Linked DNA regions of Homo sapiens: regions 1, 3 and 4 are each linked to region 2. The links are contacts of gene promoters, found by promoter capture Hi-C in human tissues and cell types (Jung and others, 2019). All regions are on one chromosome and are shown on one strand. Each heading gives the region's core, a stretch centred on a gene start or on the middle of the fragment in contact. The rest is flanking DNA. Distances are from core to core; before and after follow the strand shown.

Region 1 (3,405 bases), core at 828-3,327, 750 kb before region 2:
TACAGGTAGACAGAAAAACCTGGGTTTAATTCCCAACTCTACTACCTACTAGCTCTGTGACCTCACACTAGCTAACCTCTCTAAGCTTCTGTTTTCTCAGGCTGTGAAATAGGGATACAAATAGTGCTTCCTTATAAAACTGTTGTGAGAGTTGGTTGATATTATGTTTGTAAAGCATCTAGAACTAGTTCATGGCACAAGCACATATAGCACTATTAACCAGATCTGTTCCACGTGCAATACATATTGACTCATTTAACTCTCACAACAATTCTATTATTGGTCTTCATGTCCCACATGAGGAATCTGAACCACACAAGGATGAAAAATTGGCCTAAGGTAGCACAGCCACAGTAGTGGACGTGGATTCAAACCCAAGCAGTCTGGCTCCAGAATCCTTACCTGTAGTCAGCACACTACACAGCACTGCCTGTAAAGGAAGGAAGAAGAAAGGAGACATGGCATCCTGGAAAGCCCAAGAAAAGAGGCACCCTTATAAAAGGGAAATGGTCAGCCCCACTTTGAAGTTGCAAATGTATAAATAATGCAGAAATGAATTTGGAACAATACCATGTTCATGTCCAAGGCCTGCAATGGTAGCACCTGCTTCTGCAGGCCCAAAAGTCAGTGAGAATCTTCATCTACAAGTCATACAATAACACTAAAAATAAAGCTTAACAAATAAGAGAAACCCACTCCCCGCATGTTTATGCCAGTGTTTTCTCAGTTGACTTCCTGGATAGAAAGCTCAACTACCTGATAGTCCAGTTCAAAATTAGACACATAACAATCCTCACTGTAGAGAAGCCAGGCAACATTCCACAGTTAGTCATCACTCTTCAAGGCCAGAGGATGGGGCCCTGGACCATGCCTGAGGATGTGATCTTGAGGCTCCCACTGCCCCCTAGCCTATGTAGCTGACAAGCACAAAAGTGGAGGCCCAGCTTGGACTCCTAATTTGGCCATTCCATCTCTAATTTACAGCCCAAAAATTAAAAGTTACCACCCTTTGGCTGGGCACAGTGGCTCATGCCTGTAATCCCAGCACTTTGGGAGGCCCAGGTGGGCAGATCACTTGAGGTAAGGGGTTGGAGATCAGCCTGGCCAACGTGGTGAAACCCCATCTCTACTAAAAATACAAAAATTAGCCAGGCACGATAGCACGTGCCTGTAATCCCAGCTACTCAGGAGGCTGAGGCACGAGAATCACTTGAACCTGGGAGGCGGAGGTTACAGTGAGCTGAGACTGTGCCACTACACTCCAGCCTGGGCGATGCAGTGACACTCTGTCTCAAAAAAAAAGAAGAAAAAAAAAGCTACCACCCTCTGCTTACTCTGAGCCAGGTACTCTACATACTTTGGCTTATTTAATCCCCCATTTGCCTCTATGAGATAGCTATTAATATTCCTATGTTATGAATGAGAAAAGTCAGGTTTGAAGGGATGAAGCAACTTTCCCCAAGTTACACAGCTGCCAAGAGGAATAGTCAGAGTGAGGATTTAAACCCAGGTTGTTTGGATTCCAAGGCCCTGCTCTTGAGCACTAAGTACTACAGCTAGGATTGTCTGAAAGTGAGTTTAGAGGGATGTATTGAGATGGTAGAGCCAGTAACCACTCCCTGTGGCCCTATTATCCCTTTTTTCCCGTGAAAGACCCCTGAAACCCACAAGAGAAGAAAGATAAAATGCTCTTCCTGCCACACGAGCTATCCTTAGGGATGGCGGCACAGAGAGAAGAGGTGTGGTGAAAGCACCCCAATTTTCTTTTCAATAGCTTTATTTCAATTCTATTACTTCCAAGCCAAGACAAACTGCTTCCGAATCCTAATCCACCCATCCCTTTTCTTTTCTGTCTCTTGATTCCCCCCAACCACAACCTGAGTCTGTGGAGGAGGAAACAGGGAGGGGAAATGAGGTTTGTGTAAAGAACAATTCTACTTCCAGTTTCCTGAACTCATATTCTGAGCTGGATTAATTTCAGTAGGTTATTCGCCAAAACTATCAGCAACTCTGGCTGCATTGTGAAGCCTGCCTGGATCCTAGTTCTGCCAGCATAGAAGAACAAAAGCATCCAGGGGAACAGGTGGTGAAAGGTGGCCACTGTCCACGCCAGCACAGCAGGAAGAACCCTCTGTGTTGGTGCTCTGCCCTTTGGAATCTGAGATTTGTTACTGTCTAACTCATTATTTGGATGGAGCTGGTGCTACTGCGTAGACAGATATATAATAGTATTTATTCTATCTTTTACAACATTAATAAGATATTGAACTCCAAAATGTACAAGCCTAATTTAGAATGTATACAGAGCTAAAACTTTCCAATTCCCTGCCACGGCTATATTTATACATCCCCAGTTTAAAATGAGAGAGCAGCTGCAAGTACTGTGGTAAAAAGGCTACCCACGTAGACCTTCTCCTGAGTTCTCCCTCGTCAGCATCCACTCTGCAACAACCCTAGTTTCAGCCCTCATTTCTCGCCTACCGCCTTGCTCTGCCCTCCCAACTGTTTTCACTACCTTCAGGGCCCACTCTCTAGGTCCTTCTATACACTGCATCCAGAGAGACGTTTCTAAAACACAAAAGCCTTCCCTGGCTTCCCATCACGTTCAGGATAAAGACAAAATTCCTGCAAAAAGAGTAGAGAAAAAAAGCCGTTTACTGCCTGAGCCAGTCTTCTACCAGTCTTCAAATTCCATCTCTGCTCTGACCCCCTTAGTTGATCCTCCTCCTAGCATTTTTCCAAAACTATTCCCACTTCTAGTACACTCTCATCTCTCTTTCATCTTCCCCATCCTGGCTAATTCCCACTTATCTTATTCCACTTTGACTTCCAACAGTGAAAGCAAAAGCAAGGTTTTCTTTTTTTTTTTTTTTTTCTGACACAGGGTCTTACTCCACAGGCCAGATGGGAGTGCAGTGGCACAATCACAGCTCACTGCAGTCTTCACCTCCTGGGCTCAAGTGATCCTTCTGACTTAGCCTCTAGAGTAGCTAGGACCACAGGCATGCACCACCACACCTGGCTAATTTTAAAAAAAAAATTTTTTTTGTACAGATGGGGTCTCTCCATGTTGCCCAGGGTGGTTTGAAACTCCTGGCCACAAGCGATCTTCCCACCTCAGCCTCCCAAAATGCTGAAATTACAGGTGTGAACCACTGCACCCAGCCAATTTTTTCTTCTTCAGAAAGCATTTCTCTGCTAGATCCCTGTCTTAGTCCATTCTGGCTGGTATAACAAAATAACATAGATAGGATAGCTTATAAACAATAAATTTCTTTCTCACAGTTCTGGAAGCTGAGAAGTCCAAGATCAATGTGACAATTCAGTATCTGGTGAGGGCCCACTTCCTGGTTCATAGATGGCACCTTCCTGCTGTGTACTCACATGGTAAAAGGAGCAGGGGAG
Region 2 (3,419 bases), core at 786-3,285:
CTTTTGTTTTACTTAAGAAAGTTAAGGAAAAGTCATACAACTTATAATGGTGTCCCGTGCACTCGTGGCTTATCACTGTGAAACCCAGTTCTCCCTGGCTCATCCACAGTAAGAATTACTTCAGTAATTTGAAAAATAACCTTTTGGAATTATTTCTGGGGATATGAAAAGTAACCTGAACCAATAACAGAGCTCAAATGCAATCCATATTACCTTCTTCCCACCCTCAAATTAAAAATTTTTTCTCCCTTAATTACAAATGTTTCTTGATGAATGCACATGTGTGAAAAGCCATTATAATCTATTGTATCAGACTATTAAATACTCTAAAAATTTAAAAGCAATATTATAACAAGTAATGTTAATCTGTAGTTTAAGAGAAAAATAGAAATATTAACCCCAGTACATAAATATTTCATTGGTATGACTACCCACACCAAAAGATAAATGAAGAATTGAGGTATGCTGCAGGATGACTAAGGTTTAAAAAGGGATTCAAATATACAGATAAATAGGAGAGGCAGAAATGTTTTGATCTTGAGTTATGCTGAAAGCTGATTTAATTCTCCTTTCTGAGTGTGGGGAAAAAAAGCAACACATGGTATTTATGCAATCTATTATCCAGAATTATAAGCAAACTTAAAATATTTTTAGATGCTATTTTCAGTTGAAGAGAGAAAAAGCAGATATTTTTGAATGCACAAATATATACCATGCCACCATCTTAACCATGTTATTAATCTTTAATCTGATTTATAACTGAAAAGCTCATGTGGTAACTGATTGTATGCGATTTCATTCACAAAAAGAGAAGATTATCCATCAAACAGGCATATTTTTCTTCGGATTTCATAGAATAAATGAGCTAGACACATTTTTCTTTCAAATCCCAGGCTATCCAAAATATTTCTAGATAATCAGAAAGGCATGAAACAGCAAATTAAGTTATATTAAGGCAGTTCTCATTATTTTGCATTTTTGACAAATCTGACAAGTTGAAAAAAACAATTTGAATAAAGGCAATATTGGAAAAAGAAACATACCTTAGAGATGATTAATGGTTCTCCGTGCTCCAGGCCACCCTTTAGAGTAAAACCCCAGGGAGCTCCTCCCTCCAGGAATGCCTCCAGATAAATGTACCTTCCCTTGGTGGCCGTGTTAGAGTTTAATGTGGCACTAGGCTTGTGGAAGTCTTCAGTGGTCCTCATCATGCCAAACACATGATCCCTCAAGTTAAATTTAAAATGCCTGAAGCAAACTCAGGCAAGCAGTGCTTCTACAGCACAAGTTGTCCCATCCTTCAGGACACACAATGGCCAAAAGAGAGGTTTGGAGAAGCAAATTCTTCCATACGTAAAATGTTCTTCCAAGCTGAACTCCAAGATGCTGAACCAGAAGGAATTTTCACTTCAACATTTCTGAATGTAAATCCTCCTCCAGGAATTCTGGGTTCTCACTGAAGCCCCCAAGTGGTATACATCTCTACTCCGTTCGTCAAAACTTCCTTCAGTGGCGCTCTGAAGATTGCTTTTCTGAGCTTTTATTTCACACATACACACACTAAAACCATTTCTGCCTATTTTACAGAGAAAATTAAAAGCATCTTACAATATAGTAAGAAAATCACAAATACTCAAAGGAATACCTCATTTTTGATTGATTATCAACCCTTTCTTCCTCTCGGAGTGAAATTTACCATTACAATAGCCTCCTCCCTCCCCAGAAGTAGCTTAAAAAGAAAGAAAGCACTTACTATGCTTCGGCTCACTTCAGAATTTTCTAACTTGTCCCGAAGAGACAGAGAAGCTGTGCTAAAACTTTTTACTTCTTTTTTTCAACAATCAGTTCATAGTTTGTTTCTTAGGAGAGAAAAAAACTTTTGCAGGATGTAGAGAAAATGAAAAAGCACGGTAAATTAATCCTCAATGGAAAAAATATGAAGGAGGCAGCTCAGTTCTTTTCTTTGGTATTTTCAGTGATGATCAGCCACTGCTGCGGCCGCCACAGCCACTTGCCTCCTCTTGAGAGAAAGAGTAAGGAAGTTAGAGGAACATGGATTAAGGCAAAGTGAGGCATTGCAACCTTTCTGCACAGTAAGCACTGCCATGCAGAATTCAGCTCACCACAAAGACCTGACAATTCAAACAGTCTTACAGTTAATAACACGTAGGAAGTTAAAAATACTATACAGATGGCTAATTGCCAAGGGATAGAAAATAGTTCCTAGAATAGCCCCGCCTCGTACCAATTAAAGGAGAATTTCAGGGAGTGAGACATAGGCATTTGTGTTTTTAAAAACCCTCCAGGCAATTCTGCTATGCAGCCAAGTTTGAGAAGCAATGCCTAAGTGATTTGGGTAAACGTTTAAGTACATGTCAAGGTGGTGGCACAAGGGCTTTTTTTTTTTCGTTAGAAGAAAATACTACCAGTGTAATATATGAAATGGGACTTTCCAATCAAAGTTCTGCTTGTTTGACTCAATAAAAACAGGAGGTGGGTTTTTTTTTCTAGGTTTTCATTGTTATCTACTCCAAGATTGTTATCCACTCTTTAAATGAAAAGAAATCTACAATGCCTTGTGGGTAAGTACTAGGTACTCGGGAAAGAATGTTGTTCTGATTTCATGTTACCAGTGTCATTTTGTAATAATGTTATATACAAATTTAACATTCATGCTTTGTATTAAAAATTTGAACAGTAGAAGATAACCATATCTAACCCAGAAGCCTCAGCTATTTAGTTATTGGAACAGATTAGAATTACTTCCAGGTAATATATGTACTAAAACTTTTTTCTGTTTAAAAGTATGGGATAATGAGAATTAAGTTGAAAACTGAAGTTAAAAACTACTGTGGGGCTTGATAACAATTATTTTGGTGTTTGTACTTATAATTAATGAAAGGCTGATATGGAAAGGCAGGTATATGATATCAAACTACACGATATTTAATTTACAACACTGGACAGGTATTGTTTGATTTTCAATGGTAACTTCACTTGAAGGGCTCAAAGACAAAAAAAAAAAAAAAAAAGTAAAACCTTATGTAATGGTAGTATGTGAATGGAAACATAAGGAAACCTAAGGTGTACCAAATGAAAGTATGTGGTAAAAATTGGCTGATTCTTAAGGGTAATTTACGCAATTTCTATTGTGGTTTTCTTTTACAGCTTAATTTGTAAGTTAGAATAAATGGAGAAACATTAGCTTTTCTTTCATTTCAAAGAACATATGTATTTTAAATAAAAGTCCTAGGTAAATGAACAGCTTTCTTTCTGAAAAAATTAATTTATGAGGCTCTTATTATGTTACTCCTAATACATTTTGTAAAAACTGGGATTTTACAGAATCCACATTTAATATTAAAAGTAACATAGCTATACAAAATTTCAGTTAGGAGGCATAAGCTCAAGAGATCTAT
Region 3 (3,545 bases), core at 1,046-3,545, 640 kb before region 2:
ATATATTTGCCTATTCTGGACATTCACGTAAGTGGAATCATATAATATGTGGTCTTTTGTGACTGGCTTCTTTCATTTAGCATACTGCTTTCAAAGGTTATGCATGTTATAGCATGTATTAGTATTTTCTTTTTATGGCCCAATAAGATTCCATTGTATAGGTCGGTGTGACGGCTCATGCCTGTAATCCCATCACTTTCAGGCTAAGGAGGGAGAATTGCTAGAGGCCAGGAGTTTGAGACCAGCCTGGACAACATAGGAAGTCTCATGGCACCCCCATCTGCGCCACGGAGCCAGACCCCATCTCTTAAAAATAAAAATTTGATTGTACATAGATGTATCACATTTGATTTATACAGGCGCCAGCTGATGAACATTTAGGTTGTTTCATCTTTGGCTATTATGAATAATGCTAACGTTTGTAAAAAAGTTTTTGCATGGACAAATATTTTCCTTTCTCTTGGGTATATATTTAGGAGTGGAATTTGCATTATTCTTATTGGAGTGAAAATCAGAAGCAATTTCATGGTCTAACAATGGAATTATGTTACACTCTCAATAGTATTATGCAGAAATGCTACAGTCTCAAGAGTAACATGCAGAAAAATGGTGGCTTTTTTGAATGAAGACCATATAATAATAGGCTACATGAAGTGAAAAAAAGAAAAAAAAAGGATACAACCCACTTGAAATCCTCCTAGGGCTTCCCATTCCTTCTTCTGTTCTATGGCATCTGTCCTCTGCTTCCACATCCTGCCTCAGTTGTCTGAGGGCCAGCCACACTAGCTTTCAGAGATTTTTAGAACGTCTCAGCTTCGGAGCCTTTTCACATAACTTCCTCTGCTTGTATCATTCTTTGCCCAGTGGTTTCAAGTCTCATCTTAAATGTCACTTCTTCAGAAAAACCTTCTCTGATATCCCAAACCAGGCGGAAAGGCAAGCGTTTCCACAGCAGCCGGCGATTTTCCATCTTAACGGTTTTAATACCAGAATTGTTTACTTGGTCAAATATTGAGAGCCTTTTATACACAGGGATAGAGGGTGAAACATGCAAGATCCCTGCCGCCTGCGACCTTATATTCTAGGGAGGGGATACATGCACAAGTAAACAAGTAAATGTACTTGGTAATTTTACATAGTGATAATTAGCTCAATGGTTATCCTCTGTTTGGACTGTAAACTCCATGAAGGCAGGAGCTATGTCTGTCTTGGCTACTTCCAGTTTGCTGAGTCTGGCCACTAAATAAACTCAACACATATTTTTTCACTGACAGTTAAAATAACTATATAAAAAACAAATGGAAAAAACAAACGAGACTTCTATAAATGGTTGAGATCTAGCTCTTCCTCTTTCAAAACTCTGTAATACTACATATTTTTAAATAATTAAAACAATCAAAATAGCAAAAAGTTACCGTTTGTACTAACAGAACCCCAAATAAAACCCATTTATGTCACCACACATTCTTTAAGCACCTGGTAATAAAACCTATTCGGAAATACTCAGACGTGTTGGTTGAGTGGATAAAATCCCCTTGCCACATTGCCAAGCAGGTTCCTCGCCGTCAGCAGTATAATTTACAGTGTTTCACTGAGGCCTTAAGCACCCATGATTTGATTCTCCCTAATTTTCCGATTCCTAAAACCCTTTAGAATCTCCCTCCACCCACACAATGTGGCAGTGAGAAAAACCGCAATTCTATTTACATGTCAACGGTAAGAACACGTAATACTTTGCTAGGTCAACAAATCTGCAAGATCTCCACCCAAGAGATCAGTAGCCCCTTCCCAGTGAATCCTTCTAAGAGCCTGGGGACGAGTAGGGCTAGATAAAACCAAGCTGCTGTAAAGCTGGACCACAGGAGCGGATCGTGAAATCCCCTCCCCCAAGCGCAGCGCTCGGCCGCTTCTTTCTTCCCCAGGCGCATGCGCAGCGCACTCTCCGGCCACCGCACGCCCCCTCAGTGGGGGCCCAGAGACGCTGACGTCACCGTGCGGTCTGCAAGCAACCCTTCCGCTCCTTCAAGGAAAATGAGTCCACGGACCTTCGGCTTTTCTTAGCCACGAGAAAACGTCCTCCCTCCTTCCATCCTAGTGCCAACGACTTCCCCAGCCCGTCTCCTTTCGGCCGCACTTCTCTGTACTTTCGTTGGACCGGGAAGGCGGCGGGGAGGAACAGGAAGGGTGAAAGACCAAGTCCGCGTAGTTTACAAGGAGTGGGCGAGTCTAGGAATCGGTCCGCGAGGGCGGAGCCGAGGAAGCCGGCACTTCTTCCTCCCTTCCCCTCTCTTCCCCTCCCTCCCCAGCCTTCCCCGCGAGCGGACGCGGCAGCGCCTCTGTCTCGCTTTTTCTTATTTTTCCCCCCTTTCCCCTTTCTTTTTTTTTTTTTCTTTTCTTTTCTCCCCTCCCCCCCTTTCACCATTTCCCCTCGGAGGCGCTTTCCCCGGGCAGGGGCAGAGCCGGTCTCACCCCCCGCCTCTCCCCGGCCCCCGCCGCCCTATGGCGAGAGGGAGCCCCCTCCCAACCCGGGCTCGAGCGGCGGCGGCCTCAGGCCGGGGGTCATCATGGAACTAATTCGCTGACCGACCCAGCGGCCGCAGCCGTGCGTCCCGCTCGAGCGCCAGCGCCCGCGCCCGCGCCCCCCGATCCGCTTCCCCTTTCTCCCTCCTCAGTTGGCCGAGTCGTCCCGCGCGCACCGCCTCCGCGCGCCTATGAGAATGAGGTGGTAACGGGCCCCCGGATGACCCCGCGTCACCACTGTGAGGCCTACAGCTCTGCCGGGGAGGAGGAGGAGGAGGAAGAGGAGGAGAAGGTGAGGGGCGGGGGCGGGGGCGGGGGCTCGACGCGTCTCCGCGGCCGGCGTCGACGCGCTGGGGCCCCGCTGCTCCCCCCGCGCCGCCCCCGTGGCAGCGCCCTTGGCCGCGCGCTGCTCGCCGGAGACCCACCCTCCCGCATCCCCCAGCCCGGGGAACCTCGGGGCCGCCCTCTTCGTCCTCTCCGGCCCAGACAGACCCGTCACCTGCCCACTTGAAAACGGCACTACTGTGTTCCTTTTCGGGCCAGTTTTTCTGTCAGCGAGTAACTTTTTTTTGTGGCAGCGGCAAATTAGCTACTCTATAGTGCGTGTTGGAGGCTCTACGAGCCCGTGTTAATACACAAAGAAGGGGACACACCCCCACCCTCAGGTTGAACGATTCTCCGGGGACACCAGGAGGATTACTAACTTTGCACGGCAGACTGAATGCCAAATGAATGGGGTGAACCTCCGGTGCTGTGAAATTCGGGGGAGGGCAACGTTACCCAGGGCTTGGGGCGGGTGGGTGGGGGGAATCCGGGGGAGGTGAGATTTGAGTTGTGCTCTAAAGGCTAGATTAAATAACTGGAATTTGAAAGGAGGACAGAGGAGCCTCCGCTGGAGCTAGGGGGCTCCGTTACAGATCCTTTTGGCAGAAGTTGACAATTGGGTATCAAAACAGTGGAAGGTGTTTCGGGAGGTAGGATGGATTCAGACTCTGAAGGGGTTTGAACTAAAATGTTTATGTTTT
Region 4 (3,434 bases), core at 296-2,795, 530 kb before region 2:
TTATTACCATTTTGCTCAAGCTACCATCTTGAATCACATGAAGCTACTATTTTTGTAGTTGAGAAATGGCTGGATATCAACTTTCATGTGGTTCAACCCACTACTAGGACATTCTGTAAAATCAAGAGCAATTTTGCCACATCTTTTTCTTTTACTGTTAATGATCTCACTGGCTTTTTGCTTCTTAAAAAGGTTATGAAAGAGTAGGCTTCGGAAAAGAAGAGTCTCAAAACTCATAACAAAAACAACAGAAATTTTATCAATAAAAATGTTCCAATAATTAGAAAGACAGCCTAAATCAACCTTTTAGAAAGATGTTTTCTAAATAGTCTGCTTACAAAACATCTGCCTTTTTTGTTTTTCTGAGACTCTAATTGTCACTAATAGTTCGTAGAAGATGCATTTTTGTATAGGCAGGAAGACCGAAAAGAAGGGAGGATGCTGGGTTTCAGCTGTAGAGGGAAGGATTAACAGGAAATTTAAGCCTCAACTTAAGTCCTTAGGCCTCAATAAGGATTAATGGGAAATTTAAGCCTCAATTCCCCAGGCCTCAGTTTCCTCATCTTAAAGGAAGGTCCTTTATAAGGTGACCTTTGAAGGCCCTTCTGGCTCTAGCACTAATAATTTGTTGAAATTTGGTAACAAATTTTATTCTACCTATATCAACTTGCATTTTATATCGTCCCACTGCCGAATTCATAAATAATTTCATGGCCTATAGGAACAGCCATTAACTGTCATTGGAACTCAACCAAAAATAGAAAATCCAACCCCATTCACTATATATAGCATATGTTTTTGCGGAGCCACATTTGCTTGGCTACCACACACTCTAGAATTCCTCCCACTCCCTCAGCTGTGGGCCTGCTCACACCATACATCAACTTTTGGTTCTCCAAATTTGCTCTCTTATGGCCGGGCCTGTATTGGAGAAATCCTGTTACAGAAACAATTCAAAAATGTTGATGTTGTCCTCAACCAATCTATATGTTTTAATATCAGAGTTCAAGCACTTGCTTCACTTGTATTTTAAAAGCAGCCACATTTTCTGCACACACAAAAAGCTTAAATTGTTCAAATGTTAAATCATTCTAAAAGGCATACCAAAAAAAAAAAAACTATTAATGGTTCCTTTATTCAAATACAAGAAAAACAAATAAATTTATTTCCAATGGAAATCAGATTGCAAATTGGCAGACTCAACCAGCAAATGTGTTTATGTGACCCACACAGTATTTTTAAAACATTTAGTTGCCAACATTGTCAGATGTGGAAATTTCACATCAAATTCCAAATGTCCATCTCTTCTTTTGAAAAACTGAAGACTATGGCACCATCAGGCCCCCATTTCCTAGTCAGAGCCAAGAGGTGGCATGTGTTTTTCCAGCAGTTTAACTGAAGAATGTGGGTTGCCTTTTTGGTACTTTTTCTCCCTCAAATAAATAAGCTAAATAATGAAGCTCATTCATAGATGGCTTACACATTTGCCTCCCTTACTATCATCTTACCATGCCATCAATAATTCAACACGGAACCTAATTGAAGCTTAACCAAAACTGTGTATAAACCATTGGCCATTAACTAAAGAGAAAGTTAGATAAATTTCTATTTCTTATTAATGTTATAGCTACATCAGGTTAAGCACTTTTTCTTTTCTTTTTTGTGATGGAGTCTCACTCTGTCACCCAGGCTGCAGTAAAGGGGCATGATCTTGGCTCACTGAAACCTCTGCCTCCTGGACTCAAGCAATTCTCGTGCCTCAGCCTCCCAAGTAGCTGGGATTACAGGTGTGAGCCACCACACCTGGCTAATTTTTGTATTTTTAGTAGAGACACGGTTTTGCCATGTTGGCCAGGCTGGTCTCAAAATCCCGACCTCAAGTGATCTGCCCACCTCGGCCTCCCAAAGTGCTGGGATTACAGGCCAGGTTAAGCACTTTTCTAACTACAATAAAGCATAAGCATTAACTGAGATCTAGACTACTTAATATTTTTTGAGACAGGGGCTCCCTCTGTCTCCCAGGCTGGAGTACAGTGGCACAATCTCGGCTCACTGCAGCCTGAAACTCCCAGACTCAAGCGATCCTCCCACCTCAGCCACCGGAGTAGCTGGGACAACAGGTGAGCGCCACCACCTCCCAGCTAATTCTTGTATTTTTTCTGAGAAATGGGGTTTCACCATGTTGCCGGGGCTGGTCTCAACCTCCTGGGCTCAAGTGATCTATCTTCCTCGGCCTCCCAAAGTGCTGGGAATTACAGGTGTGAGCCACCATGCCTGGCTGATTACATAAATTTTTAATTTTTTTCAAGATGTATTATTGTTAGATTTAAATTTGGTCTATTAGAAAATCACTGGAAAATCTCCAAACTTTATACATTAAAAAAAAAAAAAGTCAGCTATACTCATCTTGTGGCTTCTTTGCTGAAAATAGTTGCTATATTTGCCTAATCAGGTCATAGTCATTTTACAAGCCTTAACAGTTTCCTGTCTCTATCCTGCATAAAAAGCACAGGATAACTAATTTGACCAAATATCTTCCTAAATCTTCTTCTTAGCCCTACTGTGGATTCAACTGTCTCTTGTCAAGTGGAGATAAAACTCATTTCATGAGAGAATTCTTTGCAAAACTAGCATAAATCTTGAGTTGTGGTAACATTAAAATGTAGGGCGCCATCCAACTACTTACTCTCTCCACTCACCATGGAATAAAGCAAACTGGACTAAACTGCAACACAGATGATGAGATGAAACACAGACTTTCCTTCTCTCCCAGGAACATAGTTAACAAAGCCTAAGGGAACACAAAGGGCAGACTCTGCTGGAGACAAAACCATGTAAAAGAAATGGCAGCCTCTTATAGCTGAAAGCTTGCAGTTGTCCATCAGAAAGTTGGTGAAAATTTCAATATAGCTCTTTTTCTAAAGCACATTATCTTTTTACATCAATAGACAGCTGAGCCAAGCCCTGAGAGCATTTCCGATGATACAAGATCCTTTTACCATCACAAAACCATTCCCTTTAAATCCTAAGATACCGTGTATAGGGTTCCAAATTTAGAATATACATATTCTGCACTCTGTCATGAGAGAAAATCACTATTGGCTCCTAAATTAAACTATAAAAGCATAGCAACAATTCTTGCTTTATGTTGTGAGGAAAACTGCACTTTTAAATATCATTGGTGCAAGCATTATTTCCTTCAATGTGTCTGTTCATATGACTAAAATGTACTTGATACACAAGTTTCTTTTAGAAATAGAAATATTAAAATAAGTATTTCCTATAATAAATTATATATAATATGTATTATATAGGCAATAATACATAATATTATACCACCAGTAATAGGCATAAATTCTAAGCCCAAAAGACAAAATTTGATAAATGACTCCTTTTTTTTTTTTTTTTGAAATGGAGTCTGGCTCTGTTGCCCA

The links. The method cuts DNA at HindIII sites, captures the fragments that hold promoters and counts their contacts. A contact is called where the count stands out against the background at its distance.
Region 1: a fragment that was not itself captured here is called in contact with the fragment with the promoter of SHROOM3 in region 2 in 1 of the 25 tissues and cell types used here (lymphoblastoid cells).
Region 3: a contact is called between the fragment with the promoter of CCNI here and the fragment with the promoter of SHROOM3 in region 2, in 1 of the 25 tissues and cell types used here (heart left ventricle).
Region 4: a fragment that was not itself captured here is called in contact with the fragment with the promoter of SHROOM3 in region 2 in 2 of the 25 tissues and cell types used here (neural progenitor cells and spleen).

Annotation. Positions count from the first base shown.
Region 1 is chr4:77,187,686-77,191,090 of GRCh38, reverse strand. All of the region lies in intron 3 of LOC107986292 (a long non-coding RNA gene), which reads right to left. Among named protein-coding and RNA genes, the nearest start is that of CCNG2, 32 kb to the right of the region's middle. The HindIII fragment of the contact is 3,395 bases long and covers 380-3,405 here.
Region 2 is chr4:76,433,845-76,437,263 of GRCh38, reverse strand. It overlaps SHROOM3 (shroom family member 3), which reads right to left and starts at 2,035. Exons shown (of 11, transcript NM_020859.4): 1 at 1,044-2,035. The coding sequence starts at 1,211. The HindIII fragment of the contact is 12,167 bases long and covers 1-3,419 here.
Region 3 is chr4:77,074,739-77,078,283 of GRCh38, reverse strand. CCNI (cyclin I) reads left to right here and starts at 2,295. Exons shown (of 7, transcript NM_006835.3): 1 at 2,295-2,812. RefSeq lists enhancers at 1,129-2,099, 1,998-2,227 and silencers at 2,408-2,757, 2,818-2,967. The HindIII fragment of the contact is 11,169 bases long and covers 1-3,545 here.
Region 4 is chr4:76,965,425-76,968,858 of GRCh38, reverse strand. The region is part of intron 1 of SEPTIN11 (septin 11); the gene reads right to left. Among named protein-coding and RNA genes, the nearest start is that of SEPTIN11, 17 kb to the right of the region's middle. The HindIII fragment of the contact is 3,733 bases long and covers 1-3,411 here.